Linked DNA regions of Homo sapiens: region 1 is linked to region 2. Evidence: promoter capture Hi-C in 16 types of primary human blood cells and fetal thymus (Javierre and others, 2016). All regions are on one chromosome and are shown on one strand. Each heading gives the region's core, a stretch centred on a gene start or on the middle of the fragment in contact. The rest is flanking DNA. Distances are from core to core; before and after follow the strand shown. Region 1 holds the start of ACTL9 (actin like 9). Region 2 holds the start of HNRNPM (heterogeneous nuclear ribonucleoprotein M).

Region 1 (6,106 bases), core at 1,014-3,513, 250 kb after region 2:
AACCAATGAAGAGGTGGATTTGGGGTGCTGAGAACCAGGGGTATCTTGACAAGTGGAATCTTGACAAGTGGAATTTAAGAGTGTGTTTGGGGGGATTAGAAATAAGGGGAAGATTATGGGGGTGCACCCAGGGGTTGGAGCACTCACGGGAAGATTCTGGGAGGAGGTTGGAGCATTCCGGGGTAGAGACTGGGTTGGGGGGTCCCTGAGGAGCATACTAAGGGGGGTGGCAGTTTGGAGGGTTTGGAGCCCAGGGGTATTTTGGGATGCTATATCAAAAGCAATAGATAATGGGGTGAGATTAGGGAGTCAGTATTTGAGGATGTCTTGGGCACATAGTGGGTAATTAATGAATGTATGTGGGATCAATGCATGAATCACTTAAACTAGAAATGGAAGGAATTGGGTATGTGGCTTGGGTATGTGGCAGACCCTAGGGGTGTGTGTGGGCATGGGGTGGGTGGTCAGAGGCTTTCATGTTCTTCATGTTTGGGGTTGGGGGCAGGTGCCAGGTGGAGGCTTATCTATGACTCATAGGAGGAGGTGATATTTCTAACAATAGCCTTGAGGTAGTGAACTCCCCATCTCTGGGAGTGTGTAAATGGGAAGGGCACTTGTCAGAGGTGGTCTGGGGAGGGGGTGTCCCAACCCAAGGGTGCCTGGGGAGGGGCACAGATCACAGGAGGATGGGTTGACAGGATTAGAACTTAGTGGTCTGTTGGGAGTTATTCATGGGGAAGGTGGGTTTAGGGGGTCAGGATTGGGGTGTCTCAGGGCATGCATCACAGGAGGTGAGTTAGGTCAGCCTGTGGGGCGAGGTGCCCAGGAGTGGATGGGGCAGGCCCTGGAGGAAGGACAGGACAGAGCCGGCTGTAGCAGAGGCTTTACTGCCCCCACGCCCTCCCCAGCTCTGCCCTGGTCAGTAGCATTTGCGGTACACGATATAGGGACCCTGTTCCTCGTACTGCTCCCGCAGGACCCAGCAGGACTGGAAGGCGCGCAGGGAGGCCAGGATGGAGCCCCCGATCCATACGGAGAAATTCCTGGTGGGCTGGGCAGCCACCACCACGTGGGTCTCGGCTGGCAGAGCGCGCAGCAGCTCTGCCCGGAAGCGACCCTCGAAGCCGGTGAAGAGCGAGGACCCACCGCAGAGAAGCACGTTTTGGGCCAAGTCCGCGCGCATCTCCAGTGACAACTTGCGGAGACTCTGCTTGGCCATGGTGGAGAGGCCGACGGGTGACAGCCCCGGGACCTCTGGGGGGTTGAACAGCAGCTCCGGACACTGGAACAGCTCCTTGCCCAGGGTGACCGTGCGCCCATCGGGCAGCTTCAGAGTCCGCTTGTACTCCTGCTCCGGCCGGGCCTGCTCCTTCTGGAAGTCGGAGGCCACGTAGCAATAGTGGTGCTTAATGTTCTCCACTAGGTCCAGGTCCTGCTGTCCCAGGGGCAGGCCGGCCTGGAGCAGCATCTCCGCCAGGAAGGCGGTCAGGTTGTTGCCCGCCAGGTCCAGACGCTCCGTGGCGTGGAGCAGGTTGTAGCCCTGGAAGACGGGCACTGTGTAGGTGACCCCGTGTCCCGTGTCCACCACCAGCCCGCTGACACGACCGTGGGCGTAGACAGACAGCACCGACTGCGATGCCACGTACATGGCTGGGGAGCGCAGCGACTCGAAGGCCACCTCCACTAGCTTCTCGCGGTTGGTGGCCGGGCTGAAGGGTGGGTCGGAGAACAGCAGCGGGTGGTCGTGGGTGGCCACTCGGAGGTCGTGCTCCAGCAGGTGGCGCCAGATGAGCTCGGCGGCATCCCAGTCCACGACGATGCCGCTGCGCAGGGGTTGCACCAGCGTCAGCTCTGGGAGCACGCGGGCTGCCTCGCCGATGAACGTCTGCAGCCCGGACTGCCCCGAGGTGGCGGGTTTCTTGGGCTGGCAGCCCAGGATGGTGGCCACGGTGTAGGTGGGGCTGGCCTGCCCAGCAAAACCTACCTTACAGGTGCCTGTGCCCATGTCAATAACCACCGCGCCGGTCTTTGGTGGCAGCCTGTCGGCCACCATGCCGGGGGAGTCCCGCTGCAGGGGCTTGTTCACCACGTTGGGACTGGGGTTTGGGCCGGGCCTGGGGGCCTCCAGGGAGGACTGGGATTCCGAGGACTTGGGGCGACTTGCATCCATGGTTGCGGGACGCCAGGTGAGGGGGCTTTTCCTCTGGGGTTGGGGTTGCGGGGAGAAGAGGTTGAGGCCCGGCCAGTGGGGAGGGCAGGCAGACAGGGGGAGGGGTGGGCCCGCAATCTATGACGTCACGGTGCCCCTTCAGTCTTCTTAAGACATCACAATGCAGCCAAGAGGATGGGTCCCTGCCCAGCCCTGCCTGCCCAAAGGCTGTCATCTCTTCTCTGAAGAGCCAAATTTGGAGGAGGAGATGAGCATCTCAGAGCAGGGCCCTCTTAACACATTTCTGTCGGATGCGCTAGAAGCTAATACGATGGCACCTGGTTTTTGAGAAAAGACAAGCTTTTTGTTGCATGTCAACCCACTGGGAGCTAGGAATCCAGCACAAGTCTGTTTCTCAGCTGGCTTTAAGGCAGTAATTTTATTAGAAAAGTTCTGGGGCCGGGGGCTGTGGCTCACACCTGTAATCCCAGCACTTTGGGAGACCGAGGTGGGAGATCACCTGAGGTCAGGAGTTCGAGACCAGCCTGGCCAACATGGTGAAACCCGTCTCTACCAAAAAATACAAAAATTAGCCTGGCATGGTGGCGCATGCCTGTGGTCCCAGCTACTGGGGAGGCTGAGGCAGGAGAATCACTTGAACCCAGGAGGTGGAGGTTGAAGTGAACCAAGATCATGCCACCGCACTCCAGGCTGGGGGATGGAGTGAGACTCTGTCTCAAAAGAAAAAGAAAATAAAAGAAAAAAAATTAGCCAGGCATGGTGGCACATGCCTGTAGTCCCAGCTACTAGGGAGGCTGAGGCAGGAGAATCTCTTGAACCCGGGAGGTGGAGGTTGCAGCGAGCCAAGATCATGCTACTGCACTCCAGCCTGTATGACAGAGCGAGACTCATCTCAAAACAAACAAACAAACAAACAAAGAAACAAACAAAAAACCCTCATAAGTGGAAGGCATTTCAGCAAGTTGTTTCTTTTTTGATCTGCCATTCTGCAAGCTCAAACATTTCTTTGGGGCATGGTTTCACTAAAAACATGCAAAATTGGTTTCTCTAACTCTTTGGGCCACGCTTTCAGGAAGACCCAGGAATCCTCCTCTGGGTACCTCGCCATGAAGCTATTTACAGCCTAGTGGCAGAGAGCTTGCCACAGGCCTCCCTAGAATATTAGAATATTCCTCCTCAGAATATTAATTAGAAGGTGGGGCGGGCTAGCATGGCTTCCTGGTTTCCAAATGGAGACAGAGGCCAGCCTTGGTTGGGGATGGAGAGAGGCAGGGAGAGACAGGAACACCCCTGTCCTAGATTCTTTGCTTCCTCTGCTATATTCACTGCCTGAATCATTCTCCCTGTCCCATTCCTGCCAAGAAGGAATTTGCCTCTTCAAATCTCAGTCTGATGCCACCTCCTCCTGGAAGCCAACCCTGATTTCTACTCTGTACTCCAACTAGATGAGGGATGGGGGAAGTCTGCCTTCTCTCCAGGGGTTGTTACCTGCTTCCTCCTGGCAGGAGAGGGGCTCAGTGAGATACAAGAAGGGGTTTCAGTATAGATAAAAGGGGAGAGGGTGCATTTGGGAGGAAGGAATTATCTCAACAATAAATAGCAGGCTTCAAAATGCATTAGGAGAGTTGCTTCAAGACCATGGCTGTTTTTGGTGATATCAGATATCACCTGTTAGTTAAAGCAAATAAAAACGTTTTTCTTAGTGTATGTTCATGCATGTGGTGGTAGAAATCACCAGGAATAGTGCTAGTGAATGTCTTATGGGATATCTAAATGAAAGAGGTTTAATTTTCTAGTTGTGTCTAGATTTATTACTCTGCCAGAGTGTGGTTTATTGAGCATTTTAATTAATTATTGATTTACTGGTATGTGTGGTCTAATCCATGCTTTTGGAAATATTTACTCAGCAATTTATTGAGGGTCTGTTTTTTGGACTGTTCACAACAACCAGAAATACACTAAGTGATAACACTTTATTGTTTTCAATTTTTTTTTGAGACTGGGTCTTGCTATATTGTCCAGGCTGGAGTGTAGTGGTGCAATCACTGCTCACTGCAGCCTCCTTAACCTCGTGGTCTCAAGCAATCCTCCCACTTCAGCCTCCAAAGTAGCTGGGACTATAGGCATGTGCTACTATCTCCGGATAAGTTTTTAATTTTTTGTAGAAATGGGGTCTTGCTATGTTGCCCAGGCTGATCTTGAGCTCCTGGGCTCAAGTGATCCTCCTGTCTTAACCTCCCAAAGTGCTGGGATGACAGGGATTAGCCACCATGCCTGGCCTTTCTTCATTTTCTGATTTTAAAACATGGCAACTTCTTATGGCAACTTTATGACTTAGGAATGGGTACTATGTCTATTTTTTTGATGGAAAAGAAGCTCAGAGAGGTCAAGTGATTGTTCAAAGTCACAACTGGTATGAGACAGAGGCAGGAGTTGAGCCTACATCTTTGACTTACTTCAGTGGCTGACTGTGAGTCTGGGAAATTGTGAAATCTAAGATCCACCCAAAACAGCCAGGCATGGTGGCTCACATCTGTAGTCCGAGATACTAGGGATGCTGAGGTGGGAGGATCACCTGAGCCCAGGAGTTGGAGGCTGCAGTGAGCCAAGATCACACCACTGCACCCAGCCTGGGTGACAGAGCGAGACCCTGTCTCAAGGAACAAACAAACAAACAAACATACAAACAAACAAGAAAAACCCACTAAAAATAGAACAGAAACAAAGGTTGGGACTCTGTGAGCCTCCATTTCCTCTCTTCTTGGATAAAATGAGGATACCTTGTCTGGCACTTAATAGATGCTAGCTTCTGAGATACTGAAGCAACAATATAGGAAAATATCGTGATTATAGGCAACAAAGCCATGATGTGCCTAAGGCCACAGATCCGGGGCCAGGCTTCTGGAATTTAAGCCCTGACTCCTCTGCTTAATAGCTGAGGCAAACTACTAACTGTGACTCAGTATCCCCATTTGCAAAATGGGAGTAATAATAGTGCCACCTTCAAAGTGCAGCTATGAGGATGGGCAAGTTATTGTTTTCTAGTGTTTAGGTCAGTGGTTCACACATAGTAAGTGCTATGTGAGGGTTTGTTACATCAATGATAAGTACTGGCTGGACGCGGTGGCTCACGCCTGTAATCCCAGCACTTTGGGAGGCTGTGGTGGGTGGATCACCTGGAGGTCAGGAGTTGGAGATCAGTCTGACCAACATGGAGAAACCCCGTCTCTACTAAAAACACAAAAATTAGCTGGGCGTGGTGGCACATGCCTGTAATCCCGGCTACTCGGGAGGCTGAGGCAGGATAATTGCTTGAACCCGGGAGGCGGAGGTTGCAGTGAGCTGAGATCGCGCCACTGCACTCCAGCCTGGGCGACAGAGCGAGATTCTGTCTCAAAAAAAAAAAAACAAAAAACCAAAAAAACTTCCTAGGTCAGCCTGCTGTGCCTTTAGTGCCGAGAACCACTGATTTCTTGAGCAGTCTTGTCACAAACCCTGGAGAACAAAAAGGAATGCTGTATTCATCGTCTTTTTATTCTGTCCTTTCTAGGCAAAAGAAATGCTGTATTCACCGTCTTTTTATTCTGTTCTTTCGAGGCTGGGGCATTTTGGAGCCTTGCTGAGCCTGCAGAGACTGCTCCTCCTGACTACCCAACGCTTAGAGATAGTCAATAATTTGTTTGCAACTTCAGGTTTCCTGTGCAAACAAACAAATCCAGAGCCCATACTCCCCAGCCACCTCCTTGTCAGGCTCTTGCACTCCAGCCCACTCTCCTCTTGCCCCAGTCACCCCAGATAACCAGGAACAGCTCCCACACCCCAGAGCCTACTGAAATGATTCATATTAGCCAATTCTAAGCCTGCTCACCCTGCCTTGCCTGTTCCTTCCTGGGGAAACCACAATAAAATCTCTTGCCCACAGTTTCTCTCACTCCC
Region 2 (5,813 bases), core at 2,868-5,367:
GGTGAGAAGACTGAGGCCCAGGGCAGGGAAGCCTTAATCTAAGGTCTCAGAGCTGTAGGAAGTGGAGCCGGGGTGACACCAGGACTCCTTTTGGAGGAAGACTCAGGAAAGATGCAGAATACGTGTTTTTTTTTTTTTTTTTTTTTTTTTTTGAAACAGAGTCTTACTCCATCACCCAGGTTGGAGAGCAGTGGCGTGATCTTGGTGATCTTGGCTTACTGCAACCTCTGCCTCCCGGGTTCAAGTGATTCTCTCTTGCCTCAGCCTCCCAAGTAGCTGGGACCACAGGCAGCTAAGTTTTGTATTTTTAGTAGAGATGAAGTCTTGTCATGTTGACCAGGCTGGTCTCGAACTCCTGACCTCAGGTGATTCACCTACCTCGGCCCCCTAAAGTGCTGGGATTACAGGCGTGAGCCACCGAGCCTGGCCCAGAATGCAGTTAATCTAATAACAACACCTACTTCTTCAGCGCTTTCTGCCTGCCGATTCTTTTATATTTAAAGGCTCTTGGCATCTGTCTGCTTTTAAAGCTCAGGGCAACCCTGAAAGGTGAGTTCTGGTGCCTTTCTTTCTTTCTCTCTCTCTCTCTCTCTCTTTCTTTTCTTTCTTTCTTTCGACGGAGTCTCGCCCTGTTGCCCAGGCTAGAGCGCAGTGGCACTATCTCTGCTCACTGCAACCTCCACCTCCCGAGTTCAAGCAATTATCCTGTCTCAGCCTCCTGAGTAGCTGGGACTACAGGCGCCAACCATCATGCCTGGCTAATTTCTGTATTTTTAGTACAGATGGGGTTTCGCCATATTGGCCAGGCTGGTATTGAACTCCTGACCTCAAATGATCCACCTGACTCGGCCTCTCAAACTGCTAGGATTACAGGCGTGAGCCACCGTGCCCAGCCTGGTGCATTGCATTTCTTATTATCCATATTTTCAGTTAAGCAAACTGAGCCTCAGAGTGGAGGAGCTGATTGCTCAAGGTCTGTTTTCCATATGAATCCCTGCCTGGTATGTAGCTCACTCACAAAGGAAGAAAAACTTTCTGCCTGGACTGGAAGGGCAAGGAGAAGCCTGTGTGGCCATGGGAGTGGAGGAAACAGCTAAGCACAAAGGCCCAGAGGCTGGAAACTGCTTAGCCTGTAGGAAGAGCAGCAGGGAGGAACCCCAGGGCTGGAGCAGTGTGATTGAGGGGCAGGTGGCTGGAGAGATGGGCAGGGCCTCCTAGGCATGGGGTGACTGACGCACCAGTGGTCTGCAAAAACGGAGCATCACACCAGTGCGCATGAGCTCTCCTGCCCCTTGGGGGGGCCTTCCTTGCTCCTGCAGCTGAACTCCCTACACAGCCTGACACCCATCTTTCCTCAGGCCAACTTTGGCCTGTGGTGCCCCAGGAGTTGATGTACAGATGCCTCAGGACATGCCATGAGGAAGAGAGAGACGAGATGGGGTGACTCATGCCTGAAATCCCAGCACTTTAGGAGGCCAAGGCAGGAGGATTGCTTGAAGGCTGGGAGTTAGAGACCAGCCTGGCCAACATAGCAAGACCCTGTCTCTACAAAAAGAGAAAGAAACAGAGAGAGAGAGAAGGAAAAGTGTTTTCTTTGCAAATCTATTCTAATACTTTCATAGAGAAGAGTTTTAGTTTGGTGTTAACCTGTCTTTAATAATCCTCTAAGGACCAGCACAGTGGCTCACGCTTATAATCCCAGCACTGTGGGAGGCCAAGGCTGTAGGATCCCTTGAGCTCAGGAGTTCGAGACCATCCTGGGAAAAACGGCAAGACCCTATCTGTACCAAAAAATAAAAATAAAAAATTAGCCAAGTGCAGCGGCGTGCACCTACAGTCCCAGCTACTTGACAGGCTAAGCAGGGGAGGATCGCTTGAGTTCAGGAGTTCAAGGTTGCAGTGAGCTATCATTTACAAAGGTAGATTGAAATATTATTGATAGGCTGGGCACGGTGACTCACACCTGTAATCCCAGCACTTTGGGAGGCTGAGGTGGGCAGATCACCTGAGGTCAGGAGTTTGAGACTAGTTTGGCCAGCATGGCAAAACCCCATCTCTACTAAAAAATACAAAACTTAGCCAGGCGTCGTGGTGTGCACCTGTAATCCCAGATACTTGGAAAGCTGATGCAGAAGAATCGCTTGAAATCAGGAGGCGGAGGTTGCAGTGAGCTGAGATGGTGCCACTGCACTCCAGCCTCTGTGACAGAGCAAGACTGTCTCCAAAAAAAGAAAAAAATATATTATTGATAATCGCTGCATTGAAGGCCAGGCGCAGTGGTTTACGCCTACAATCGCAGCACTTTGGGAGCCTGAGGCAGGCGGATCACGAGGTCAGGAGTTCGAGACCAGCCTGACCAATATGATGAAACCTTGTCTCTACTAAAAATACAAAAGTTAGCCGGGCGTGGTGGCATGCACCTGTAATCCCAGCTACTCGGGAGGCTGAGACAGGAGAATCGCTTGAACCCAGGAGGCGGAGGTTGCAGCGAGCCGAGATGGCGCCATTGCACTCCAGTCTGGGCAACAAGAGCGAAACTCCGTCTCAAAAAGATAATCGCTGCATCTTACTGCCCAAGTTGCCACAAGCACACGTAACATCTGATGGTGCCAATTCGACTGTCTGCACTTGGAAAATGGCACATTGGAGGCTGCACAGCACCATAAAACTGATGCCACGAATGCACACAAAAATAAGACCATACAGCATTATGCCTAGTACAGAATACACCCTGAATTCTGTCACAGTTCACTTTATGCAACATTGCAAGAGTCCTCTCGCTCTTTATTATTATTTTTAATTTTTTTGAGATGGGGTCTCACTCTGTGACCAGGCTGGAGTGCAGTGGCCCGATCTTGGCTCACTGCAACCTCCTCCTCCTGGGTTGAAGCGATTCTCCTGCCTCAGGCTCCCCAGTAGCTGGGATTATGGGCGCCTGCCACCACACCCGGCTAATTTTTGTATTTTTAGTAGAGACAGGGTTTCATCATGTTGGCCAGGATGGTCTGATCTCTTGACCTCGTGATCCACCCGCCTTGGCCTCTCAAAGTGGTAGGATTACAGGCGTGAGCTGCCGCGCCCAGCCATTAATTTTTTTTTTAATTTTGTTTTTAACTTTTAGGTTTGGGGGTAAATGTGAAGGTTTGTTAAATAGGTAAACACTTGTCATGGAGGTTTGTTGTACAGATTATTTCATCACCCAGGTATTAAGCCCAGTACTCAATACTTATCTTTTTGTTTTTTGAGATGGAGTCTCAGTCTATCTCCCAGGCTGCGGTGCAGTGGCGTGATCTCGGCTCACTGCAACCTCCGGCTCCTGGGTTCAAGCGATTCTCCTGCTTCAGCCTCCCGAGTAGCTGGGATTACAGGCGCCCGCCACCACGTCCAGCTAATTTTTTTATTTTTAGTAGAGACGCGGTTTCACCATGTTGGCCAGTCTGGTCTCGAACTCCTGACCTCAGGTGATCCGCCGCCTCGGCCTCCCATACCCAAAGTGCTGGGATTACAGGAGTGAGCCATCGCGCCTGGCCCCATTATTAGTGAATTTTAACAGTTTTCCGTTTCTTCTGGACGAACTGTTTGCAATTATAATGCGAATTACGGATAATACTCTGATATTATTCCATGCCGTTCCGTTGTTGCCTACAAAGTTCGCGCTGGAGAACCGCGCAATTGCGTTACAAAAAGAAAAAAATCACACAAAAAGACACAATGTTTTAAGAAAGTTTACGAATCGTGTGCCGGACCGCGGGTTGAACAAGCTTCATCTAAAACTTCCAGGAATCTCTAGACAGGATCATTGCTTCCCCTCTGCTCCAGCTCTGGTTACAGAAAGCTGAGAGTGACTAGGTCTAGGTGTTTGTGTGGGGTGGGGTGGGGAGATGCCTCCTCTATCGGACTCAGAGGACGCGCGCCGGGAACAGCCAGTCGGTGCCTAACGCGAGTGTATCTCGAGAGAGAAGCGATCAACAGCTGCCGGTCTGCGCCTGCGCGCGGCGGGGGCGTGGCCCGGGGCGAGTGGGGCCAAGGAGGCAGCCGGGAGCGGCGGGCGCAGGTGTTACTGGTTGCGTCGGGTCACGTGGGCGCGCAGGCGCAGCGCGGTGCAGCCCGTTCGCTCACACAAAGCCCAGACGCGGAGAAAATGGCGGCAGGGGTCGAAGCGGCGGCGGAGGTGGCGGCGACGGAGATCAAAATGGAGGAAGAGAGCGGCGCGCCCGGCGTGCCGAGCGGCAACGGGGCTCCGGGCCCTAAGGGGTGAGTATCCCACGGTCCTTTGCCACGGGTAAGGGTTCCTCTCCGCGGCCGACGCGGGCGGCGGCTCCGTTAGGTCTGTTGGCGGCCTAGCCCCGGCGCGGCCTCGGCCCCGGCTGTTCCCGTACCGCCTGCTCAGGGTAGCGGCGTCTAGGGCCGTGAGCGGGGAGCCGGGGGAGCCTCCAGAATCGTCCCCTACACCGGGCCTCGAGCCTCGCCACCCTCAGTCCCTCCAGGCCGGGGCCAACCCCGTAGTCGAGGCCTCAGGCCCAGCTGCTGCGCATGGGGGTTGATGGCGCGGGCCCGGACCGGAGAGCCTCCGAGGCCTACCCGACCGCTCCCCGGGAGGGTGACCTCGGGGGCCGGGTTTCAGCCCCCCGTCCCCTCTCCTCCCGGGGTCTGTTTTCTGATCCGTAACGTGGGGGGAGGAGAGAGGGTGCGCGCCCGGGAGGCCTCGCGCGCAGTCAGCCCGAGTCAACGGTAACCGAGCGAGGGAAGCGTCAGGAAGGGCCGCGAAGCCGGGTCGGGGGGCTCCCCTCCTGCCCCGCCCCTTAGTCCCCGCGCGCCGACCGCGCTCCGCGGGAAGTGCCTCCCTCGGAACCGCCCCTCGCCCCACGCTCTGGCCCTGGCTCAAGTCCCTCGCCGTTTCCCGCTCCTCCTCCCCGGGTGCGCCGCAGGTATTAGTGGAGAGATGGGATCTGCTGCTTAGCGTTCACCCTCGGAAGCAGACAGATACGAAGTCGGGGGAGGAATCCCCTTTTTCCCGTGTTTCGGGGAAGCTGTTCTGTCAGGAGGCGGGTTCATTTACTTCCAGACTTCATCAGCTTTTCGAGTCCTGCTTGGGGCTCTTTGACTCCTTGGCTTTTAAAAGTTTCTTTAAAGGAGGAAGCATCGACTTGTGCCCCGGTGAAACTCATTCATTCTGATTACAGACACTTAAGAGAGACAGAGAGGTTTTGGCTCCAAGATCAGCGGCCGGGAAGGAAGGGGAAGCCTGGGTACACATTGAATTTCCCAGACATTTATTTCATTGTGGTAAAATAGACATAACGTAGACTTTGCCATTTTAACCATTTTTTAAGCGTATAATTCAGTGGCATTGAGTATACTGACTCAGTGTGCTGTAACCGTCACTGCTTCATGTCCAGAACTTTTTCATCATCGGAAACAGAAAGTGTAGCTATTAAATACTAACTCCCTCCGTTTTCTTTCCTTTCTGTCTGTGACTTTGCCTTCCTCATATTGTAATGTGTGAAGCTTAGTTTATGGAGATTAAAAGTGAATGCGGTTGAGCACTTATATATTTAATTTTTTTCTTTGAGACAGGGTCTCCCTCTGTTACCCAAGCTGGGATGCAGTGGCACGATCACAGATCACTGCAGCCTCGAACTCCTGGGCTCAATCGATCCTTCCATCTCAGCCTCCTGAGTAGCTGGGATCACAGGCGCGGCACCACCATGCCCGGCTAATTTTTTGAAGAGAGGAGGTCTCCGGGTGTTGCCCAGGCTGGTCTGAAACTCCTGGGTTCAAGCCATCCTCCTGCCTAGGCCTTCCAAAGTGCT

The links. Contacts are between HindIII fragments. The CHiCAGO score rates a contact against its expected background, and 5 or more counts as called.
Region 1: a contact is called between the fragment with the promoter of ACTL9 here and the fragment with the promoter of HNRNPM in region 2, in 10 of 17 cell types (naive CD8 T cells, naive CD4 T cells, M2 macrophages and 7 more). The highest score is 12.8, in naive CD8 T cells.

Annotation. Positions count from the first base shown.
Region 1 is chr19:8,696,532-8,702,637 of GRCh38, forward strand. It overlaps ACTL9 (actin like 9), which reads right to left and starts at 2,264. Exons shown (of 1, transcript NM_178525.5): 1 at 869-2,264. The coding sequence starts at 2,170. The coding sequence ends at 920. The HindIII fragment of the contact is 13,278 bases long and covers 1-2,507 here.
Region 2 is chr19:8,440,858-8,446,670 of GRCh38, forward strand. It overlaps HNRNPM (heterogeneous nuclear ribonucleoprotein M), which reads left to right and starts at 4,118. Exons shown (of 16, transcript NM_005968.5): 1 at 4,118-4,254. The coding sequence starts at 4,142. RefSeq lists silencers at 1,008-1,302, 3,877-4,156, 4,397-4,626. The HindIII fragment of the contact is 1,747 bases long and covers 3,760-5,506 here.